Regions from separate parts of the Homo sapiens genome. Here regions 1 and 2 are each linked to region 3. The links are contacts of gene promoters, found by promoter capture Hi-C in human tissues and cell types (Jung and others, 2019). All regions are on one chromosome and are shown on one strand. Each heading gives the region's core, a stretch centred on a gene start or on the middle of the fragment in contact. The rest is flanking DNA. Distances are from core to core; before and after follow the strand shown. Region 1 overlaps TANGO6 (transport and golgi organization 6 homolog). Region 2 overlaps CDH3 (cadherin 3). Region 3 holds the start of TANGO6 (transport and golgi organization 6 homolog).

Region 1 (3,846 bases), core at 450-2,949, 170 kb after region 3:
TGAATTATCACACATAACAAAAATTCCAGGATTGCTAATTCTCTAGCTCAGTGACATCATTGAAGACCCATATTCTTTTCATCTTTCTCTGTCAACCACAGCTTATGGGCCTTATCCTTTAGTTCCTCATGGTTTCAAGTTGGTTGCAGCAACTCTAAGGCAACCCTAATTCATATATCCTTATGATAGCCAAAGGCAAAAAGTTTTCTGAGAGTCTTCTAGCAGACTTTCCTTCACAACTCCTTGTCCAGAACTGGGTCACATGCCCATGCCTAAACCAATTAAAGCAAAGGGAGATGTCCACCACGATTCACTTAGACCAATGGAAACTGTAGCCTGAATCACATGGGGAGGGATGGCGACAGGTGGATACTTGAACAAAATTAATGTACTGTTTGTAAGGAAAATTGGGAAAATGCCAGTGAGATGTATACAAAATTTGACATAGAGGAATCCCTAAAGCTCAAATTAACCCCTGGGCTGGGCACAGTGGCTCACACTTATAATCTCAGCACTTTGGGAGTCTAAGGCAGGAGGATCACTTGAGCCCAGGAGTTCGAGACCAGCCTGGGCAACATAGCAAGGCCCAATCTCTGTAAAAAAAATTGTAACCAGCTGGGCATGGTGGTGTGCATCTATAGTCCCACCCTACTCAGGAGGCTAAAGCAAGAGGATCTCTTGAGCCCAGGAGTTTGATTCTGCAGTGAGTTATGATTGCACCACTGCACTCTAGCCTGGGTGACAGAACAAGACCTTGTCTCAAAAAAAAAAAAAAAAGAAAAAGAAAAGACAAAGAACCTCTTATGTAGGATCTTAAAATTCAATGCCTATGCCAAATTGCAGCCCTGGAAGATTCTTTGACTATGTGCATTCATTTTGTTCTCCATAGAAACCAGTTCAAGCCAACTCCCACCTGGAGACTAGGGTACAATACAGTCCTGAGACCTCTATCACAAGATCAGAAGGGAGGGAAGATTAGTCAGAGGGTAGCAGAGCCCCAAGAAATGAAGGCAAGGTCATAAATCCCCAAAGAAGACCAGGTTTGAGCCAAGTATGTGACAGATCTAGGCTATGTATGTGAGGCCTAAGAGAGGTCCAGTCTCGGAGAACGTGGAGGCAGGGGCCCTTTGAGAAATGCAGAGTGGATGCAGTGAGTGTTCCAGTTCTTCCAGTCCAACACTTGGAAAACAAGGTAGCAAGTGAGCCCAGAGCCAGCTGACCAGGTACAATGCAGGGTCTGAGATGCTGACACTCCCACTGGCTTCTTGGGTTCTCAGATGTAGCTGGGATGGGTTGATGGAGCATGTAGTTTAACAGATGCTCATTTTATTTTATTTATTTATTTATTTATTTATTTATTTATTTTAAACAGAGTCTTGCTCTGTCGCCCAGGCTGGAGTGCTGTGGCATGATCTCGGCTAACTGTAAGCTCCACCTCCTGGGTTCACGCCATTCTCCTGCCTCAGCTTCCCGAGTAGCTGGGACTACAGGCGCCCGCCACCACGCCCAGATAATTTTTTGTATTTTTAATAGAGACCGGGTTTCGCCATGTTAGCCAGGATGGTCTCGATCTCCTGACCTCATGATCCGCCCCCTCTGCTTCCCAAAGTGCTGGGATTACAGGCATGAGCCACCGCACCTGGCCAATGGATGCTCATTTTCAAAGGAGTGCTGGAGCTCAGTTAGGGCAGGAATTTACATAAATGGAACGTTAAGTTGCAGTTTTGTTAATATAGTGATATGCTCTTGACTTATATGGCCAGTCAGTATAAGAAACAGCCGTATGATTCCTGCATTGAATATAAAGCTTCTATTGCCCACTCTCTTCTTCACTTTTCCACCAGGCCCTCACATGCCTTGTTCCTTGAGGTCTTCTCCTCTGAGAGCTCTTCCCTGAGCCCTCACCCACATTGTCAACTCCCCCGCTCCTTATTTTTTTTCATAGCCTTCATTGCTGCTGGAAATTTTATTATTTATTGTCTTTCTTCCCCGCTAGAAGTAGGCTTCATGAAGATGGGAGCTTTGATTTCTTGTTCATGCCATATTGTCCTCAGTACTGAGAACATTGGCACATTGGAGTACTGTGGGCACTCAATTAAGATTTGCTGGATCAATTAGCCAGGCGTGGTGGCACATGCCTGTAATCCCAGCTACTTGGGAGGCTGAGGCAGGAGAATTACTTGAACCTGGGAGAGGGAGGTTGCGGTGAGCCGAGATTGCGCTGTTGCATTCCAGCCTGGGCAACAAGAGCGAAACTCCATCTCAAAAAAAAAAAAAAGATTTGCCGGATGAATGAATGAGATACCTCTTAGTGTCCTTCCTGAAGTTTCTCTCTCTTCATGATGTTCCTTCTTTTATTGGATAATGAGAGCTGTGTTTTCTAATTCCTTTTTTGCCTTAGCTACCAAGAATTGTAAAATTAAACTACTAAACTCTTGGTTTATTTGCAGTAGCCATTCTTAGCTTGGGATGTCTGCACTTCTCTCACTTACTGTAGAGGTTTTAAAATATTTATTTTATGTATTTTATTTTATTTATTATTATTATTTTGAGATGGAGTCTCTACCCAGGCTGGAGTGCAATGGTGCGATCTCAGCTCACTGCAACCTCCGCCTCCTGGGTTAAAGCTATTCTTCTGCCTCAGCCTCCTGAGTAGCTGGGACCACAGGCAGGCACCACCACACCTGGCTAAATTTTTTGTATTTTTAGTAGAGATGGGTTTCACCATGTTGGCCAGGATGGTCTCAAACTCCTGACCTCAGGTGATTCGCCCACCTCAGCCTCCCAAAGTGCTGGGATTACAGGTGTAAGCCACCATACCCAGCCTAAAATGTTTATTTTAATGACACATGGTTTCAACGTTATTTATTGTAAGTTGCTTCAGATCCTGTGTGGAAGTAAACGAAGACTGAATAATAAGTGAACTAATTGAAGGGTAACAGGGAGTAGTGAAAAAAAAATGAACACACTTTAGAGTCTGAGCAAATAAGATAATACTGGAGCTGTTGTTAATAGAATAGAAACCAGATCAAACATTACTCATAAAAGTCCCTCTCTGTCACCATTTTGGCACATCTCACTCCATTGTTATTGCTTGGTCAGTATTTTTCCTCTTCCCCATTAGGTTTTGCCATGAGGGTAAGGACTGTATCTTTCTTGCTTATGATTAGTCCCCCAGGGCCCAGCACAGTGGCAGACACATAGTACACACTTAATCATTATTTGATAAGTTAATATGCCTTTTCTTTATCATTTATTTTTAACTATAAGCCACTATATTAGTAAACATTAAAATGTTTCTCCTGTGTTCTTACCCTTTTCAACCTGCAATTTCCCCTGCTTGTAGATTCCAAACTTCCTTCATTTTTTATGTGCCTTCCTTCCTGACAAGGAACCTTCTTCCTTTAACCACAACAGCCTCCCACTCCAGGGCTCATGAATGTGTGCCTTTTCTTCCTTCCCCAGTCTCCTAAATCTCATTTTCCTAATGACTAAACTGAAAGTGACTCACCAACTCACACACTTAGAAGTGGAAGGGGCCTGAGAGGTCATCTTGTCTCACTGGCTCATCTCCACTTCCAGGGAAGCGAAGTGAATTGCCCAGGGGTCACTCTGCTGGTTGGCAGCAGGGCCAACCCTAGAACACAGATCTCTAACTCTGGATCCTCATCTCCCACTGCAGAGTGAGCAAGCCCCCTTCCTAACTCCAGAAAGAGAAAGCACTGCAACAAAGGTAGAAAAGTATATTTTAGTCTTAGTTGGAAATCTTTTTTTTTTTTTTTTTGAGAGACAGAGTCTCACCCTTGTTGCCCAAGCTGGAGTGCAATGGCGTGATCTCAGCTCACT
Region 2 (3,886 bases), core at 1-2,500, 160 kb before region 3:
ACACGACCTCATGTTCACCATTCACCGGAGCACAGGCACCATCAGCGTCATCTCCAGTGGCCTGGACCGGGAAGTGAGTGGCCCTTAGGGAAAGTACTGCCTACCCAGACTTGCCCAGGCTGGGAACTGACTCTGAGAGCAGAAGCTCCTATCCCTGCCCACAAAGCCCAAGGCAGAACAGTGAGGACCCACGTCAGCTGGGATGGCCACTGCTGGGTTCACATGCCATGCCCCTGGTTCCTTGGGCCTGTGGCCCGCTGCCAGCCAATCTCGTTAAATCTCCTCCAGGGCTGGGAGGCAGCTGTAAAATGCCTACTTTTGGTATTTTCTGTAGGTTTTCTCATTTCCTCTCAGAGTGGCTCACTTAGTGTGCACATTACCCAAATTGGTCCCTTATGTGCCACAAAGTAGAATTAGCTCCATGGATACTGGATTTGCTGCCTGTTTCCTAATTGATACCTTTATCCAAATCCTCACTCAAAACTCTTTTTCTGAGGCCAGGCACAGTGGCTCACGCATGTAATCTCAGCACTTTGGGAGGCCAAGGCGGGAGGATCACTTGAGGTCAAGAGTTCAAGACCAGCCTGGCCAACATGGTGAAACCCTGTCTCTACTAAAAATACAAAAATTAGCTGGGCGTGGTGGCAGGCACCTGTAATCCCAGCTACTTGGGAGGCTGAGGCAGGAGAATCACTTGAACCTGGGAGGTGGAGTTTGCAGTGAGCCAAGATCACGCCACTACACTGCAACCTGGGCGACAGGGCAAGATCCTGTCTCAAAAACAAAAGCAAGACTCATTCTGGAGCAGTTAAGGGTCAGGGGGCGATGCCAAGGCTTCCCTAGGACAGGCCCAGGAGAACTATTTGGATCACTCGTTCCCTCTCCAACAGCATCCTCTGCTTCTGTTCTCCTGGCAGTGGGTGAGGGGTGGTCAAGGAGTCAGCGTTATGATAGGGAGAGATCCTCCTCTCCATCCACACACCCATGAGCCAGTGCTTCCTGGAGGTCAGGGGAGGGACCCTTCAGATTAAACTCACAATGGGCTTCCCCTCTCCTTTCTCCCCAGAAAGTCCCTGAGTACACACTGACCATCCAGGCCACAGACATGGATGGGGACGGCTCCACCACCACGGCAGTGGCAGTAGTGGAGATCCTTGATGCCAATGACAATGCTCCCATGTTTGACCCCCAGAAGGTAATGCCCCTTCCTCACTCAGTCCCTCATCAGATAATGAAGGACCAAAGTTTGCCTTTCTCAGGAAACTGGAACCAGTCTATATTGCTTCAAATGCCAGTCTCAGCACTATGGCTGTGTGACCTTAGGAAAACTACCTAACCTCTCTGTGCCCCATTTCCTAATCTGTGAAAAGGAGATAATGATAATACCTGCTGCATTGTTCTGAGTTTCAAATGAAATAATCTATGTACGTTTCCTAACACGATGCCCTAAAAGAAGTGCTTGATATGAAAATCTTTGTTGATTTGAAAACATATTTTCCTTGTACCTACACCTGCCCATCTTTTCCCAGTGAATGCTTGTGTACCTCCAAGGCAGAGGACTCAGTGCCAATCAAGGTGCCAATTACATCCTCCCCCTTCCATCTTTAGACAACTCTGAACGTTAATTAGGTCTGAATAAAAATTTGTAATGACGCCAGGGGCGGTGGCTCACACCTGTAATCCCAGCACTTTGGGAGGCCAAGGCGGGCAGAACACTTTTGAGGCCAGGAGTTCAAGACGAACCTGGCCAATATGGCGAAACCCCGTCTCTACTAAAAATACAAAAATTAACCAGGTGCAGTGGCATACACCTGTAGTCCCAGCTACTTGGGAAGCTGAGACATGAGGATCGCTTGAGCTTGGGAGGTGGAGGTTGCAGTGAGCCGAGATCACACCACTGCACTCCAGCCTGAGCGGCAGACTGAGACTGTCTAAAAAAATAAAATAAAAATAAATAAATAAATTTTTTGTTCCGAGCAACTGATTTTCCAGTCTTTGTCACATGTCCCAGAACCTCCAAAAAATTTCTGTTCAGTGCCCCAGCCCATTCAGGCACCTAGCCCTTCTTGCCACCTTCCTTATTCCTTTCTGATCTCAGCTGGATAGATAGCTACACGTGGCAGGGGCTTGGGCATGCAAACCCGTGAGATTTCTGGAACATCAGGCCCCTGCGTGTAGGGAAAGCAGGCACAGGATTGGTGTGGTCTGTGCCAGCAGCTGTGAGGCTGCTGCTGGGGACATCCTGCCGCTGTGTATACCCTGAAACCCCGCAAAGTGGGTGGGTGGTCCAGGAAAGGGTAAAGGCATGGGGATCCCCTGAGGTTGGATGGAGGCTTCTCAGCCTCTGGAGTAGGACAGTCATTCTCTGCTCTGATAGTGCTGTGCTTCTCACACTGACAGTACGAGGCCCATGTGCCTGAGAATGCAGTGGGCCATGAGGTGCAGAGGCTGACGGTCACTGATCTGGACGCCCCCAACTCACCAGCGTGGCGTGCCACCTACCTTATCATGGGCGGTGACGACGGGGACCATTTTACCATCACCACCCACCCTGAGAGCAACCAGGGCATCCTGACAACCAGGAAGGTGAGTCAGTTCGGGCCTCAGACAATGGCTATACCTGGGGCAGTCAGGTCTGCAGCCTTCAGGATGAGGAGCCACTGTCTACCGTGGGCTAGTCCAGGAATCGTACCAGCCCAGTGGCTCCCAACACTGTTCTACCACTCTTGTGTTGGGAAGTCCCTTTGTTCAAACTAAATCTTACCCAGGAGCCCACTTCATAAATAGGTAAGAGTCACTGATTAATTGAAGCACATCAGTGGAGCCTCCTCCCAGACCACAGTGTCCAATGGCTGCCCCGAATCAGTCTCACATAGAGAGTCCATCTTATTGAAATCCATGTTGACTTTGCATTTACTCTAAAACTCATGTCTAGGTGTTTAGATAATAAAATGTTTTGAATCACTGAGGCACACTCTTGCCTCTCAAAAAGTCTCTTTTTTGTGTGTATGTATTTTTGTTTTTATTGGGGTATAGGACGTGGGTTGGGTCAAAAAGTCTGAATAAGGCTGGGCGCAGTGGCTCACACTTATTCCCAGCACTTTAGGAGGCTGAGGTGGGAGGATCACTTGAGGCCAGGAGTTTCAGATGAGCCTGGTGAACATAGCAAGATCCCATCAGCACTAAAAAAGAAAAAAATGAAGATGGGCCTAATCTTGCATCAGTTTCTTTTACTTCCTGGTTTACTATGAAGAATGGTGTGGTTTGAGAAGCAGGGTATAAAATATTGTATGAAATAATATATTTTAAAGACTGGGGTTTGCTGTCCTGTTTTCTGCAACAAATACTTTGTAATGCCACTTCGACATTGTTAAATGATGTGAAATGAAGTTCATTTATAATATAACTAACCTAACTCATTATTTCTAAAAATAGAGAATGTCCTAACTAAAATAAAGAAAAAATCCAGACCGGGTGCTGTGGCTCACGCCTGTAATCCCAGCACTTTGGGAGGCCGAGGTGGGTGGATCACGAGGTCAGGAGACCGAGACCATCCTGGCTAACATGGTGAAACCCCGTCTCTACTAAAAATACAAAAAAATTAGCTGGGCGTGGTGGCAGGCGCCTGTAGTCCCAGCTACTTGGGAGGCTGAGGCAGGAGAATGGCGTGAACCCGGGAGGTGGAGCTTGCAGTGAGCCGAGATCGCACCACTGGACTCCAGCCTGGGTGACAGAGCAAGACTCTGTCTCAAAAAAAAAAAAAAAAAAAAAAAAAAAAAGAAAATCCAGCCTGGACAACATGGAGAAAAAAAAAAAAAAAGAAAATCCAGCCTGGACAACATGGAGAAATCCCGTCTACGCTAAAAGTATAAAAAATTCGCTGGGG
Region 3 (3,648 bases), core at 633-3,132:
GCCCATACACAATGGAGAAAACATTGTCTAATGACAAAACCTGGAAAGGAATACACAAAATAAAAAGAGCACAGTGGCAATTTTGTAGGTGATTTATTTCCCATTCAAAAATATTTTTAAGGCCAGAACCGGTGGCTCACGCCTGCAATTTCAGTATTTTGGAAGGTCGAAATGGGCAAATTGCTTGAGCCCAGGAGTTTGAGACCAGCCTGGGTGACATGGTGAAACGCCATCTCTACAAAAATTAGCCGGGTGTGGTGGCATGCATCTGTAGTCCCAGCTACTTGGGAGGCTGAGGCGGGAGGATCACTTGAGCAGGGGAGGCAGAAGTTGGAGTGAGCCAAGATCACACCACTGCACTTCAGCCCGGGTGACAGTGAGATTCTGTCTCACACACACACACAAGATTTTATTCGGAAGGCTGAGGCAGGAGGATCACTTGAGGCCAGGAGTTTGAGACAAGTCTGGGCAACATAGAGACTCCATCTCTAAAAAAAAATTTTTAGCGTTTTTCCCTCTCAGGCCCTGCATTCCAAAATGACAAAGAAAAGAAGAAACAAGAGTCATGCCAAAAAGGGTAATAGCTATGCGCAGCTTATTCTCGCCCAAGGACCGGACCATTAAGAAGTTTGTCCTTTGGGCCGGGCGCAGTGGCTCACGCCTGTAATCCCAGCACTTTGGGAGGCCCAGGTGGGCAGGTCACTTGAGGTGAGGAGCTCAAGACCAGCCTAGCCAAGAGGGCGAAACCTTGTCTCCACAAAAAATACAAAAATTAGCCGGGCATGCTGGGGCACTCCAGTAATCCCAGCTACTCGGGGGGCTGAGGCCAGATAATTGTTTCAGCCTGGGAGGCAGAGGTTGCAGTGAGCCGAGATCACGCCACTGAACTCCAGCCTAGGCGACAGAGCGAGACCCCATCTCAAAAAATAAAATAAAAATAAAGGTCCTGCCCTCAAAAACATTGTCCTGTGTCTGCGGCATGACTTTCAGACAACATGGTTTTTCAACGTCCCACCAGGATTTATGTAGGTGAAAACCTGTTTCCGATAATCTGAATCTCAAATCCATTCTGTTTTACATATAAAAACAGTTTGGCGGAGGGCATGGTTTTGATAGACCCTGAATTTTCGAGGAATGCATCAACCATGAAAACAGAACACAGATCGAACTTTTACTGGGAACTTTACTAAGTTCACTGAAAAAAAAAATCATATTACCCATAACAACATTTGTAGCTTTACATTCACGATGGATATATATGCGTGTGTACGTCTGTACTTAGGTTTTGTTTGTTTGTTTGTTTTGAGATGGAGTCTCGCTCTGTCGCCCAGGCTGGAGTGCAGTGGTGTGATCTCGGCTCACTGCAACCTCGACCTCCCAGCTTCGAGCGATTCTCCTGCCTCAGCCTCCCGGGTAGCTGGGACTACAGGCGCCCGCCACCACGCCTGGCTAATTTTTGTATGTTTAGTAGAGACGGGGTTTCACCATATCGGACAGGTTGGTCTCAAACTCCTGACCTTGTGATCTGCCCGCCTCGGCCTCCCAGAGTGCTGCGATTACAGGTGTGAGCCACCGCGCCCAGCCTGAATATTGTTTTTCTTATCCATACTTCACTGTAAGCAGATGGAAGCATCTGTCTGCTTCATTATGTCTGCCAGTGTTGAGTACCTGAGTATTTTCATATTGAAATATAGCTTTAATGATACATTACTTCTCTCTTCCTTCTTTACATAGCGGTTAATCATATTGAGCTTCTGAAATTGTGCGCGTGGGCAGATTAGCCATTTTTGGGTTCCCTCTTACCCCCCGGACTAAGCCGGGACGGAAAAAAAATGTGAAGGGGGCGTTCCCGATCGATTTGGCCCCGCCCCATAGTGTGCCCAGAGCCTTCTGCCACACTTAACATGGCGGCGGCGGCGCCCTGCCGAGGCGCCTGAGCGGGTCGCGAGCGTGGTGTTACACTCCAGTCATGGCGGCCCGACAGGCCGTGGGCAGCGGGGCTCAGGAGACATGCGGTCTGGATCGGATTTTGGAGGCATTGAAGCTGCTGCTGAGCCCGGGAGGTGAGAGGACGCATCTCCGCGCCGGGCTGGACCCGGGACTCTCAGGGCCGCCCGGCTTCCGGGGCTGCCCTGCCTTCCGCAGCGTGCGCCCCTTAGGCCCGCCTCGGGACCCTCCGCCCGCTGCTGGGGGCTTTGAGCATTGTCTATGCCCGTCCTCATTACGTTCTTGAGGAAACTGAGGCTCAAGGAGGGCGCGGGATCCGTTGACTGCTGATATTAGCCAACATCTCTTGAGCATTTGCCTTGTGCTGGGCTCTGTCAGGCGGGGCCGTTATTTCATTCAGTGCTTACTGCAGCGCTCTTGGGAGGGGGATATGGACCCAGCTCCAGAGAGGGTAGGGCGCCCGCGACGTAGAAATGTGAGGTCCTAGCCGCGTGAGGGCGCAGGGGCCAGCATGGACCCTTGAGATTTGTACGAAATGCCAAGAAGTCCAGACATCGGAAGCAGTGACGTTTGAAATGGGTTTGGGGAGAGTATTTAGGGGTTACCAGGCGCTTTTAATCTTTGTGGTGCGTGGACAGTTTCTTCCCAGTCTAAAATCTGAAGGGATATTGGGAGTGGTTGAAGCTGCTACTCCTTTTGCGACTGAGGACACCCAAGGCTCACTGAAGAAATTAAGTAACCTGTCCAAGATCACGTGGTCAAATTAGGGGCAGAACACGGACCTAGGCCCGAGATCTACTGAACCCCCTTCTCAGAATCAGACAAATTGTTCAGTATAGGGGCTCTGATGTTATCTGGAGCTTTTGGAAAGGACGTGGAAGATAGAGCTCTGCTTATCACTGGGGTGTATATTTGGGGGAAGGGATGGGAAGGGATCTGTAGAATTAGCAAGGGCACATGAAAGGCCAAAGGGGATCACCTCCCAGTCTCAGATTTTATACTTAAAACTGCAAAAACTTCTGCAAACATTACACCACACCAGCGGGAAGTGAACACAAGTTACTAATATTAGTAAATGAGTGCCTACTAAGTATCAGTCCCCATAGTAGGCTGTTGACATACACATCATTTAATCCTCATTACGATCCCCTGGGATCGGTACTACTTGTATTCAATTTTTACGGATGAAGGACCAAGGTTCAGGTACATTGGAAATTGCCCAATGTCAGACTAGTAAGTGGCAGAATTTGAATTTAGGTTATTTCCACTAAAAGTATGGTAAATATGCTACATTGTCTCAATTAAGAGTCAGACTGCAAAATAGAATTTTAAGTTGCTAATCGAGAGGTCACTTGTCTTCTAACGGCAACTCTTTTTTTTTTTTTTTTTTGAGATGAGGTCTCACTCTGTTGCCCAGGCTGGAGTGCAGTGGCACAATCTCGGCTCACTGCAACCTCTGCCTCCCAGGTTCAAGCGATTCTCCTGCTTCAGCCTCCCGAGTAGCTGGGATTACAGGTGCACACCACCATGCCCAGCTAATTTTTGTCTTTTTAGTAGAGACGGAGTTTTGCCATGTTGGCCAGGCTGGTCTCGAACTCCTGACCTCAAGTGATCTGCCTGCCTTGGCCTCCCAAAGTGCTGGGATTACAGGCCTGAGCCACTACACCTGGCCTGCAACTCTCTATTGTATGACTGAGAACA

What was found. Contacts are between HindIII fragments. The study calls those that stand out against the background at their distance.
Region 1: a fragment that was not itself captured here is called in contact with the fragment with the promoter of TANGO6 in region 3 in 2 of the 25 tissues and cell types used here (bladder and lymphoblastoid cells).
Region 2: a contact is called between a fragment that was not itself captured here and the fragment with the promoter of TANGO6 in region 3, in 1 of the 25 tissues and cell types used here (mesenchymal stem cells).

What each region holds. Positions count from the first base shown.
Region 1 is chr16:69,014,135-69,017,980 of GRCh38, forward strand. All of the region lies in intron 15 of TANGO6 (transport and golgi organization 6 homolog), which reads left to right. Among named protein-coding and RNA genes, the nearest start is that of HAS3, 90 kb to the right of the region's middle. The HindIII fragment of the contact is 8,154 bases long and covers 1-3,846 here.
Region 2 is chr16:68,679,902-68,683,787 of GRCh38, forward strand. CDH3 (cadherin 3) reads left to right here. Exons shown (of 16, transcript NM_001793.6): 7 at 1-73; 8 at 1,067-1,195; 9 at 2,401-2,586. Among named protein-coding and RNA genes, the nearest start is that of CDH3-AS1, 36 kb to the left of the region's middle. The HindIII fragment of the contact is 4,049 bases long and covers 1-3,275 here.
Region 3 is chr16:68,841,649-68,845,296 of GRCh38, forward strand. It overlaps TANGO6 (transport and golgi organization 6 homolog), which reads left to right and starts at 1,883. Exons shown (of 18, transcript NM_024562.2): 1 at 1,883-2,063. The coding sequence starts at 1,970. RefSeq lists an enhancer at 1,854-2,123. The HindIII fragment of the contact is 20,381 bases long and covers 1-3,648 here.